Linked DNA regions of Homo sapiens: regions 1 and 3 are each linked to region 2. The links are contacts of gene promoters, found by promoter capture Hi-C in blood cells and fetal thymus (Javierre and others, 2016). All regions are on one chromosome and are shown on one strand. Each heading gives the region's core, a stretch centred on a gene start or on the middle of the fragment in contact. The rest is flanking DNA. Distances are from core to core; before and after follow the strand shown.

Evidence for each region. The method cuts DNA at HindIII sites, captures the fragments that hold promoters and counts their contacts. A CHiCAGO score of 5 or more calls a contact.
Region 1: a fragment that was not itself captured here is called in contact with the fragment with the promoter of GPR65 in region 2 in 11 of 17 cell types (naive CD8 T cells, total CD4 T cells, naive CD4 T cells and 8 more); the score reaches 11.7 in naive CD8 T cells.
Region 3: a contact is called between a fragment that was not itself captured here and the fragment with the promoter of GPR65 in region 2, in 1 of 17 cell types (monocytes). The highest score is 5.0, in monocytes.

What each region holds. Positions count from the first base shown.
Region 1 is chr14:88,146,358-88,150,191 of GRCh38, reverse strand. LOC107984699 (a long non-coding RNA gene) reads right to left here. Exons shown (of 2, transcript XR_001750851.2): 2 at 3,689-3,834. Among named protein-coding and RNA genes, the nearest start is that of KCNK10-AS1, 12 kb to the left of the region's middle. The HindIII fragment of the contact is 8,467 bases long and covers 1-3,834 here.
Region 2 is chr14:88,002,857-88,006,821 of GRCh38, reverse strand. GPR65 (G protein-coupled receptor 65) reads right to left here and starts at 1,687. Exons shown (of 2, transcript NM_003608.4): 1 at 1,600-1,687. RefSeq lists enhancers at 243-302, 1,103-1,272. The HindIII fragment of the contact is 4,497 bases long and covers 1-3,965 here.
Region 3 is chr14:88,248,704-88,252,696 of GRCh38, reverse strand. All of the region lies in intron 2 of KCNK10 (potassium two pore domain channel subfamily K member 10), which reads left to right. Among named protein-coding and RNA genes, the nearest start is that of KCNK10, 73 kb to the left of the region's middle. The HindIII fragment of the contact is 1,036 bases long and covers 990-2,025 here.

The DNA.
Region 1 (3,834 bases), core at 627-3,126, 140 kb before region 2:
AGCTTCACAGGGGTCTACAATTGTTGTGCTTCTCTGCACACCCAAAGGCCTACTGTCAAATGCTTGAATAAAGGAATTGGCGTTTCTGTTAACTTATTCTTCCCGGAGGAAGAGGCCGGCAAATCATCATGGTTGTATGAAGCCAGAGAGCGCTACTGCCATTAAAGCTAATTGGAAATTCATGTGCTATGGACAGCATTGTTAGTGAAGGATTGACTCTTGCACCTGCCATTTGCTAGAAGATAAGGTCATTTACTGATTGTGAGGGATTTGGAGCACTAAAGTCATCTCCTTACATCGGTATCCAAGGATAGAGTTGATTGCGGTATTTGGGGAATGAAAAGAAGAGACTAATGCTGATTTCTAATCTCTCTCTTTCTCTTCCAAAGTAGGAAATGACCCTTATGTCAAAGGATAAAAGGAAACAGTCTATTTAGCAGGAAAGAAGGAGGGGAGGTAGAGGGCGGGACTGTCACCTTTGTTAAGGAGCCACTCATTGCTTGACACTCAGCTAGGCACCTGACACATATAATTCAATTTTTATACAAACTTTGGCAAGAAGACTAATTATTTCAGTGTTACAGATGCAGAAACCGATGCTCAGAGAGGATAAGTAGACCCACCCAAGGTAAACACAGCTCAAGAAGTGGCAGCATCCTTGTCTGCCTGACACCAGAACAGTTTTTGGGGACACTCTCATATTGCTTCTGTGCCTTGACTACAGAAGTAAAACTGTCATGCTGGGTTTCAGGTTGGGCAAGCAAATGGGCATTTTGGAGAATTAGATTTTATTCAGAGCAATATTGGGTTTTCAGTCTTTCCTGACACTTATGATTATATCATTTTCAGCCCTGAATTCTGTGGAATCTACCTTGCCTAGATGAATCAGAATATTTAGAAATGACAGGCTTATGGAAGTACTTCAGAGAAGAGCTGGGGTAGGCTGGTAAAAAACATGTATCAAGACTTCAGACATAAAAGTTGCCCTGAATTGGTGACTTTTAGCCCCATCCAGTCTGTATAGTCATTAGACAGCCTGAATGTCAGATATTCAGGGGACAAAGCCTTAGAATGAAAAAGATAAATGGTTGTTTCAGTAATGTTCCCCTACATACTCTAAAAGAAAGTCAGCATTAGATACCAGATCAATCTTTTTTGTTTTCACCATTTAATAGGTCTGTGGGAAGACAGAAGTTTCAAGTCAATGAAAGTCTTTGTAATCAAATTGCATTGAACAGGAAAGTCATACAAAAGGTTACATTGAGGTCCTATGCTCTGAATATAGTTAGTAATAGGATAGTAGAATGAAAGAAGAAAGGGAAGAAAAGGGAGAAGAGAGAAATCTGAGAATATGTGGATTAGAAATGGTGCAAGGACAAGCACCTCAGAAGGCAAGGAAGGCATTAATATCCAAGGATGGAGTAGAATGTGATATTTTGGGGATGAAAAGAGTAATGCTGATTTCCAATCACTGTCTTTCCCAAATTAGGGAATGATCCTCATGTTGATTTAATGTTAGAAGAATGCACTAAAGAAAGAGGGCCCCTGACTAAGGTTGAGGATAAGGGATTAGATTGAAACAGCAGAAGCAACATGAGAATTGGATGAAAGGAGCAGGGAGAACCTTCACTGCACTTAGCAACTTTCATGTTTTAGTAACTCAGGCCCTGGATCTTCCTGTCTTCCAGATCAACAGTTCTCTCCTATAGTAACAAAATTGCCTGGCTGGAGCCCCCATTCTTGGACCCTGCAGAGATTGCATCTTCCCAAATGCATCCAAGGACTTCTTATGAGCCTTGAATTTCTCCAGTTCTTTCATTTATCCATTTTCCTGATCCTACTGAATTCCCTTTTTCAGTTTCCTGGCACCTTGTAGCTCTTTGTTTTTTGCTCTTGTCATCCCAGAGTGAAAAAGCTACTTCTGTTTCTGTAGCTGAAGGTTTTGGGTTAACAGAAGGGCTTTTGTCACTGCATAGAATAGAAAACAAAATTCATAAATTATTTCAGGCTATGGGGACTTAACTGGCACTCTCCCTAGGTGTCCTTCATTCCTGTTTTCCTTACTACTTGTCCACCTCATCCATTTCTTCTAAGATCCCTACTCCACCCACTACTCCCCAAACTGGTGGCATCTACAGACAGCTCCAAGATTCTGGTTGCTCCATTAAGCAAAGCAGTTTAGCTCTCTTTGGCTTCCACAAGAAACCACACTGTTATGGGATCTTTGGGGCATCAATTTTCTGGCCAGAAACCTCTGTCGCCAGTGGTGCGTTTGCCTGAGTTCTTGTCCTACATCCAGAAAGAATGAGGTATATAGATAAATGAAGAGTGACAAGTGAAGGGTGAACAAAATGAAGATGAGCTTTATAAAGTGTTAGAACAGCTCAGAGGAGGCCTAGAGTGGATAAGTCCTCTCTATAGGCTGGTTGTCCTGTGGAGTGTTCAGCTCTCAGCAGAGCAGAGGCCCTGGAGAGGGTAGCTCCTCTCTGCTCACTGGTCATCCTGATGTCTCTCCTGATCTCAGCAGAGAGGGTACCTCCTCTCTGCAGCTGGTCCTCCTCTGCAGTTGTCTCTCTGACTCAGGCCATCCTGTGCCCTACTCTGGCTGAGCCCTGGGCTTTTATGGACCTCAGAGGGGAAAAAGTGTCTGCTGATTGATCCATGGGCAGCCACGGGTGGGTCCAGAAGAGGTATTATGAGACCCCACTCTGGTCAGTGGGACTGGCAGCCCAGCCCCCAACCTCCTGGCCTGAAAGTGGGGCCTTACTGGAGACCAACCCTTTCCCACCGAGGAATCAATCTGCCTTCTGCTGGTATTAATGGCCCCAGGGCTCAGCCACAACCTCACTCCAGGATGGAAGCAGGTGCCAGGAGAGGAACGAGGCCAGACAATGGGAGCAGACAGCCCAGAGCCAACAGGGCCATCAGTGGGGAGGGCCTTCCCACCCCCAAGGAGGCAGACTACAGAGATGCTCAGGTCTCGTGCCTGGGAGGGCAGCTGCAGCTACACCCAGGGAGCTCCCACCCCACCAACTTGGAAGGGGCAGAGCTCCCGATTGTCCCTGGCTCCTGCCTGCTCCATGGAGTGGGAGGCCCAGGTCTGCAGCTGCTGGTTGGGCAGCTGAAGCTGCACCCCAGAGGGCAGATCCTGCCTGCTTCCGGTTCCCCACAAGAGCACAGGGAGGCTCGGACCCACAGCTGTAGTTTGGGCGGCTGCCCATAGACCAGGAGGCCTGGATCTGCAGCTGCAGCTTGGCCCATAGACCAGGAGGCCTGGGACTGCTGCAGTGGTGCCCAGGGAACTCCATGGAGTGTACAGGCTGAGTCGCAACTCCCTGCTGCAGCCAGCATGGTAGTAGTGAAATGGGAAAAGTTCCCTTGTCCCCCCTCGCAAGGCATGTGATGCAGGTGTGACTTGATTCTTCAATGCCCCGCTGCTCAGACCTCTAGGGGAGCATACAGACAGGCGGGCTGTGGGGCTCTGATCCCACAGCAGTGTCTAGGGGTGAATGTTTAAAGCTAAAGCCCCAGTGGGTGTGTGTTACAGGATACTCTTTTAGTTTTGCCATCCATAGGCAGCTGTGTTAGCCAGCACAATTAGATCCCTGCCTTATCCCAAGGACAGAGGGCTTTCTCTGTCCTGGGGTTCTTGCCTTGGTGTACTGGAAGAATCAGATCACATGTGGGCTTGGAGAAGGAGTGCAAGGTTTTATTAAGTGGAAGTAGCTCTCAGCAGATGGGGGAGCCAGAAGGGAGATGATTTTTCCCTGGAGTTGGGCCAGTTGGTGGCCCTAGCTCTCCTCCAACTGCCCCAGCCAAACTCCGCATTGTTCC
Region 2 (3,965 bases), core at 438-2,937:
TTGAATCAGCCCCCGCGGATGGGACTCTGATGCACACACAACACGTCCAACACCAGGCTCATGTGTCTTGGGAAGAACACCTGAACCATGAAAACATCCTCCCCTTAAGACCAGGACCGAGAAAGTCGGGTAATGGGCAGCATGTGCCTCTTCCTCCTTTGTCCGTGTTACTCAATAGATAGTCATCATTTTCTTTAAAAATGGTATGACAGATTAAATGAAAAAATGATTTTTAGAAAGGTTTATAAAGTTTTCAATGGAATACATTTCTCTAGCTGTAAAAGCATTTCCTGCCTTGACTTAACCACAAGACAGGATGGGTTGATGAAGCAGAGGCCCTCTTCTTTGTAGTGACGCAGAGGCAGTACAGGCTTGTGGTTAAGAGCGTGGGCTCTGGAGACAATTCGAATGCCTCTCAACAGCACTCTGGGCCCATTGGTGTTTCTTCACCTCTCTAAGTTCCAGTTTTCACATGTGTAAGTTAGTACCCAGTTTCTAAGATTGTTGTGAGGGTTAAATGAAACGACATATGAAGCAAAGTTCCTAGCACATGGGAGGCATTCACTGTACGTTAGCTGGTAATATTGTTTTAATGACATTGGTAGTCTGCACCAATCTTTGTGCTGTCCCCTACATTTTCTGAAAAGAAATCATCTTTAGTCATCTAGCCACAGCATAGCAGAAAAGCTGGAGGTGCTCAGAGTGTAATTTATATGGTAACACTTCACGTATAATACTAGGCTCTGCAGATAATAGTTGTTCATTTAATTTGGGTGGATCTGAGATTTTAGTGGAATACTGTATATAATTCCTATTACAGTATTCACATATCTTTTCAGATATTATTTTGCCTCCTTTAATCAAATTTTGAGAAAATTGTTTTTAGAACAAGCACTGAGAAATTTTGGTGAGTTTTTAATTTTTTAATTTTTACCAGATGTCAAAAAAGACAATCTACAGTATATTAAAGTATATCTATTCTTGAACAGATCTAAAAATAGTACAAATCATTGATGACGATGACCAAAAGTACAATATTTTCCTACAGTGTTATAGAAAATGCTTGCTTTCATCTATCAGTTTAATAGTTACTTATTAAGACTCTACTATATATTTCAGGCACTGTGGTAGTCACTTATTAACTAATAATTATTACTTGACATTTATTAATACTGGAAATATTCTTTCCTAATATCACATTTTTTTCTGATGGATATAAAAAGTATTTACTGGACCATTGTACAGATGAGGGATTGGTGCCAGATAGCTCTAAAGCCAGGGGCTGGTAGGCTTCTTCCTAATACTGAATGAAGTTTGCCAAAGCACTGTTTCCTGAAAAGAAAATAAAGTATGAACAACCCCCTTTTTCTATATCTATGGTTTTGCCTAATTAGTTCTAAATTTAAAGTTTGGCCCTTTACCACTGCTCAAAGTAGAGGAAACCATGTGTCTTCCTCATTTCTTTCTCTCTTATCATGCTTTGCATTACCACATTTATACAGCCTAAACCAGGAAGAATGTTGCGAACATCACTGACAATTATGCCAAAGCATGTTATCTACTTTAAAATATTATTTTATTTTTTAATCTTATACTTACCCATATTTCTTCCGGTGATGTGTTTGTTGACTGAGGAGCTTGATAAATCTGTGCCTGCATCAAGTCAAGAAGAGAAACCAACACTGCTGAGGGGACAGGAAATTGCACTCATATTTCAGCACAAACCAATGAGGAAGCAGCATCTCAATGAGAAGGGTGTGCGTTATCCAAGTTTGAACAAAAAAAGTCTCTTAAATACTTTTAAAGATGTTTTTATTTATTGTTTACTGTACTGTAATTTTTATAACTCACTTGTCTCATTGCATCTTAATTACAAGTATGTACTGATATTATATTATATGCCCTTTACTTAATGGAATATATGTTAAATATTTTATTTATTTCTTTGTTCATTCATTCATTCATTCATTCATTCACTCATCATGCCAGCAGTGTGCGGGGAGATGTATACGAACTGGCTATCAACCAAAAGCAGCTTTTTTTACCTAGTAAAGGAGAAAGACATGTTTAATAATGATTGTAATGCAATGGCAAAATGAAGAAGTACTTCAAGAGGGGTACAGATAAAATAGAATGAACCATTTGGATGTGTGAGATAGGGGAGGATATTGTAGGTAGATTCAGGGTGATAAAGTTCCTGGGACAAAAACAGAAAAGGGAGAATTGAGGCTGAGGGGTTTAATGATGGATATTGTGCTGCTTAAGGCAGGGGTTAAGGTAGCCAACCTCATACCGTCTTTCTTTTCTTTTTTTTTTTGAGAGACTAATGGGATTAGATATATAGTATTTGATTGTAGAACTATTTTCTCCTTTGATTCTCTCCTCTTGGAAACAGAGATGGCTAAAAACCAGTTGAATTAACTAGCTGAGACAAATAATTTTATGAAACTTGAAAATTTTATTTAAGACTTACATTGTTATTATAAAAACTCTTGTACTTTAGCAAGTTAAAGTTAATGCCAAATCTATAAGTGGTTTAATATGAAGTGAAATTAGCTCCTATAACTTTCTTACTATTGATATATAAAAAAGTCAGAAATATCACTTTTGAATCTTGCCCTCATAAACTTTTATTAGAAATGAAGGGAAAATATTATTTGAAAGAACAGAATTTATTTGGGATGAAAACATTTGACTTAATTTTAAAGATGTAATCAGGACATTTTGAATCTGTGTTTGTTAAAGGACATTAAGGGTTGTTGCTGGTGTTTTTTTTTTGTTGTTTTTTTCTCCCTACCCAGAGATAGAAAAGATTAGCCTGTATATAAGCAAGGCTTTCCATATTGAAGTTGATCAGGGTATATCAGGAATGTAAAGATTTTCAATACTTCCGTTGTAGGTCTTTCTTTGAGAATAATAAAACTAATACCTTACATTTATAAAGCACAGGATAGTTTATAAAGTAATTTAGCATATAGTAAATTATAAATCAATATATTGTTACTGAAATAATAAAAATTAAGTATAAAGTAAAAAATTAACAATAAATGTCTTGAAGTTTTACAAAAATGAAAAGTAACGATTTCAGTTTACTTGTGACTGTAATTCAAAGTTCTCATTTTTGCTTGGTTTCGTACATCTGCTTATCTGTGGTTTCTATACATGATATATCTTTTTTTAAGTTCGGGGTACAAGTGCATTGTTACGTAGGTATTTCATTACTCTGATGATCTCTTACTTTATCTGAATAGACTATACTTCTGCTTTTAGGGAAAGGGTATTTTCATGTCCATATCTAATATTCATGTATTTTGCTTTTCAAAAGAAAAAGATTATCATTAAGAAACATAAGAAACACAAACTTTCACTTCTGATTAAAGAGGAGAAAAAGCTGGAGCTGACCTATGCTAAAACCTTGCCAACTCTACACAATAAGAAATTTACCAGCTTTTAAGAAATTTGCTTCTTAATATGGAAAATATGGCAATACTGTATTTTCAACTATAGGGCTATCTTTTATAATGAACGGTTAGAAATTTTAAATCATTGAGTCACTGTGACATTTTAACAACATAACAATGAGATAAAGACAATTAGTAGTTATTCAGAACACTGCCTTAACGGGGTTGGCATTTCTGACCAGTCAATTATTTGGTTTTCTGTGGTCACAATCTGGGGACCCAACACTGGCCAGTTGGGCTACTCATGGGGTAATGGGGAGGAGATTGTGGATCTACCTGGTTCCAACTTCTCCATTGGGCAGACAGTGCAAGAGTGTGTTCTACTGATGAAGGGGTCCTTTGTGAGGCCACACTATCTGCTAGGTGTAATTTCACTAGCTAAAGCGGCAACTAAATATGGCAGGGTAAGATTTTGAAATAATGCTATATTTTCCCAGCCACATTTCTTTTCACTCTAGCCCTACCCTTACACAATCAGTGAGCCATTTTGCATTTATTGCCTCA
Region 3 (3,993 bases), core at 258-2,757, 250 kb before region 2:
TGGAGAAAGATTTAGTCTAAGATGTGGGCAGCGGCATGTGAGGAGTGGGTATTGTGCTGTGGTCCTGGGTATGAACCTTTGATGTTGTCATGGCAACCAAAGCTGCTATTCTGCAGATGAGAGGACTAGATATTATGAACTGTCAAACTGTTCTCTCCATAACCAAGGAGATGTTGGTAATCTCCTTGGTAATTTGCATGACCCATAAACATTTCCCAAGGCTGTGGCTCTGCCCTTCTGCCAAGACCCGAGTCACTCACTTGCTCACTCACTTACTCATTTGCTCACTCACTTATTCATTCTTTCATTCAACAAACTTGTTGATTGCCTACTGTGCTAGATGCTGGGATGTAATGGTGAATAAAAGACAGACATGGTCCCTGCCTTCTTGGAGCTTATAACTAGGATGACCAAATGTCCCAGGTTTTGTGGTTCTGGAGTAATTGTTAATAGTGCCCCTTTCTCTCTCAGAAGTGTCCTGGGGCTGGGCGTGGTGGCTCATGTCTATAATCTCAGCACTTTGGGAGGCTGAGGCAGGCGGATCACTTGAGCTCAGGAGTTTGAGACCAGCCTGGGCAACATGGCAAAACCCCATCTATATTAAAAAAAAAGTGTCTTGGTTTGAAATATAAAATATATAGTGACCCTACTTATAGACAGTGGGAGAGCCAAACCTTATGCATGTTATTACACAAATAATTGTAACTAAAAGCCAGATGAAAGTTGCAAAGGAGAGGGAGCTAGAGCTATGGGACACCCAAATAGGAGAACTGATTTAGTAGGACAAAGATTCCAGGCAGAGAGGGCTGAGTCAAGGCCCTGGATGGGAGGAAGCAACATGCCATGGCTGAGGACTTGAGAGAAGTGAGCAAATGTGGCCAAAGGGCATTTAGCAAAGGGAACTTAGAAAGCAATTTGGCTGGAGACAGGCAGGAGCCAAACCACGCAGGTGCTGATTCTGAATTTTATCTTAAGAGCACTGTGAAGCTTACAGTTATGTTTTCAGTAGCAGAGTGATATAATCTGGTCAATCAGTACATTGCCATTTTGGTTCTTCGTATAAACCCAAAGGGTTTTAAGTTATTTGTTCATTAATTCAATAACTAAACATTTATGGAGTGGCAACTGTGGCACTCTGCTAAGTGTTTTGCTCTGGAGTTCTGAACTCAATTGTCCTCAGTGGTGCCAAAACTCAACTCTTGGGGGAAGCCTTTATGGGCCCTTTATGTTGGGTCGTGTCCTGCTTGGCACCATTTGCCCCCCATTTGCTAGACTCTCTTGGATGACCTTTACTTTTCTCTGTCCTCTTTCCATGACTGTGAGCTCTTTGAAGTTGAATCTATGTCTTTTATCAATATATCCCTTCTGCCTGGCACAGTGGCTGGCCAATAGAAAATGCTAAAGGCTTGAGGAATGAAGGAATGGTGCTTTTTGTGTCTGTTCTTTTTTTTTTTTTTTTTTTTTGAGACAGAGTCTTGCTCTGTCTCCCAGGCTGGAGTGCCTTGGCATGATCTCAGCTCACTGCAACCTCCACCTCCTGGGTTCAAGCGATTCTTCTGCCTCGGCCTCCCTAGTAGCTGGGACTACAGGTGTGCACCACCACGCCCAGCTAATTTTTGTATTTTTAGTAGAGACGGGGTTTCATCATATTGGCCAGGCTGGTCTTGAACTCTTGACCTTGTGATCTGCCCACCTCGGCCTCCCAAAGTGCTGGGATTACAGGCATGAGCCACTGTGCCCAGCCTTTGTATCTGTTTGAAGACCAAGAGCCCTTCATTTAGAACTTTCACAGAAGGAAAGCAAAAAATTCTTTTGTTTCTGTTTTACAAGTCTTTTCTTTTTGGTCTGGTTGTCAATAGTACTTCTCTGGATCCGCCTCCTGTATTCAAGTGATTTTTCTGTCTCAGCCTCCTGAGAAGCTGGGACTACAGGGGTGTGCCACCACACCCAGCTAAGACAAAAACTCACCTTGTTGTCTTCTTTATGCATGAGCAGATTCCCTTGGTATCTATAGCCGTCGAAGCTTTACGTATTTCCCTATTTAGGGACATAAGAATTTTTAGGAAAGCAGCGTGTTGGAAAGCACGGCACCTGAGATGTTCATGGAAATCCTTGTTGTGACTTCAGAGTGCAGATCTAGAGCAGCCCTCTGTTTGTCTGCCCTGGGCCATCCCCTATTTCAAGCAGTCTTTAGTCCAGGAAGTTTAGGTAGCAGCTCAGGCAGCAGGTGAGCTCTGGAGAGTGCAGGTTCGGGTTCTTTGAGCCCAGGGGCACAACTCTGAGTTGAAGTGACTCCTCCTGGCTGTTGCTTTGAATTTAGAAGAGCTGCCCTTTCACCAGCAAGGCAGTCACGCAAAAGATGCTTCAATGTGTGCAAGATCAGGCCTGCAGCCCCCAGCCTGTGTCTACAGGCCTCCGAGTCATTATTATTACTGTTTCTATCCCTGGGGTTATTGATTTCATCACTGTTTAGTGAAGGAGATCTAAAGCTTTTAAGCCAGAAATTAAAGAGGTAATGGAAATTGGCATGCCACTGGAAAATGAATTTGCAAATGAGAATTCAATGTTCTAAAAAAACTCCCATAAAAATAAAACCAAAACCCAGAAGTGAATGCTCCTGTGACTGCATTTTTTTCCAAATGTGCATGGGTTTGTTCTCCTTTAGAGTGTGGCTGTATACATTATGGAATAATGAGATTTTGATGGTGTCTCGTTCCTACAATTGCTCTTATTACTTATCACAATACAATGTATTCATTTATATAACTAATATTTACTTAGTACCTATAATGAAGCAGGTGCTATGTTTGGCTCTAGCGATTAAAAAACAATAAAAAATGCAAGATGCCTCCACCCTGTCCTCAGGGAGCTTGAGGTTCAGTATTAATTATATCGCTAGCCAATTCTGGCATGGTGCTTACTGTGGACAGGAACTGCTCTAAATGCTTCACGTGTAGTAACTCATTTAAATTTTACATTGATCCTATGAAGTGGGGTAAGCAACAGAGGAACAGAGAAGTTAAATAACTTGCCCAAGCTGAAGTGAGAGGTGGAACTGTGATCCGGCCAAGGCAGTCCGGCTCTAGAATCCATGGTTTTTAGCCATGATGCTCTACTCTAGTGGATAGTTACAGCCCAGTAGCTATTGGTTACTAGATTGGTTCTAGAAGACAAGGAAGCACTCAGGTCCTTAGTCACAGAGCAGGAGTCTCTGACTCAACCTATGGGACCCCCAAGAGGACCTTCATTCACCTGTGAGTCAACTGCAGTGAGTCGTGATTACCTCCTGGTTGTCCTTTAGAGTGGCAGGGCTTTGTGTCTTAACATAAGGTGTTGAAGCTGGGTCACCCTTTTCGATCTAAAACCAATGTCCATGGGTTATCATTCAGGTCTGCAATTAAGAGTAGCTTGTCACTTTATATTGGGAACATTTATTTTTCCTTCCTTCTCTATGGAAATGGGCAGAAGAGATGAAAAGCCTGCTGGTGCAGCTTAACTTTCCTCAGTAAGTGAGTGTTTAACCTTTTGTTTTTTTAAAAATGGAGATGAGACATACAAATTATGACTTCTCTATGTTGTCCTTTTTTTTAGTTGGAAGAAGGTGACATGACAGATGAGCTTTAGAAAAATGTTTAGAAGGTGAACAGAGAACTATTCGTGGAAGATAGAAGGCTAGAGTTAAAAGAGAGGACTTTTAACCAGTCTCAGCTCTGACACTTCCTAACTACTATAACCTCACAGGATTTTGTGAGGACTAAATAGGATAATAAGGCGGAGTCTGCCACATTGCAAGTGCTGGCAGCTATGATTAATTTTAGGAGTATTCTAGAACTTTCCCTGAAGTTTCTAGCATTGTCTGCACTTCCTTGTTTCTCCCCTTATCAAACTATGCTCAGGGAGATTTGGTGACTCATTCTTAAGGAGGCACAGAAAATGATTTTTTTTTTTTTTGGCACAGAATCTTGTTCTGTAAAGGGCAGTCTTGCTCTGTGG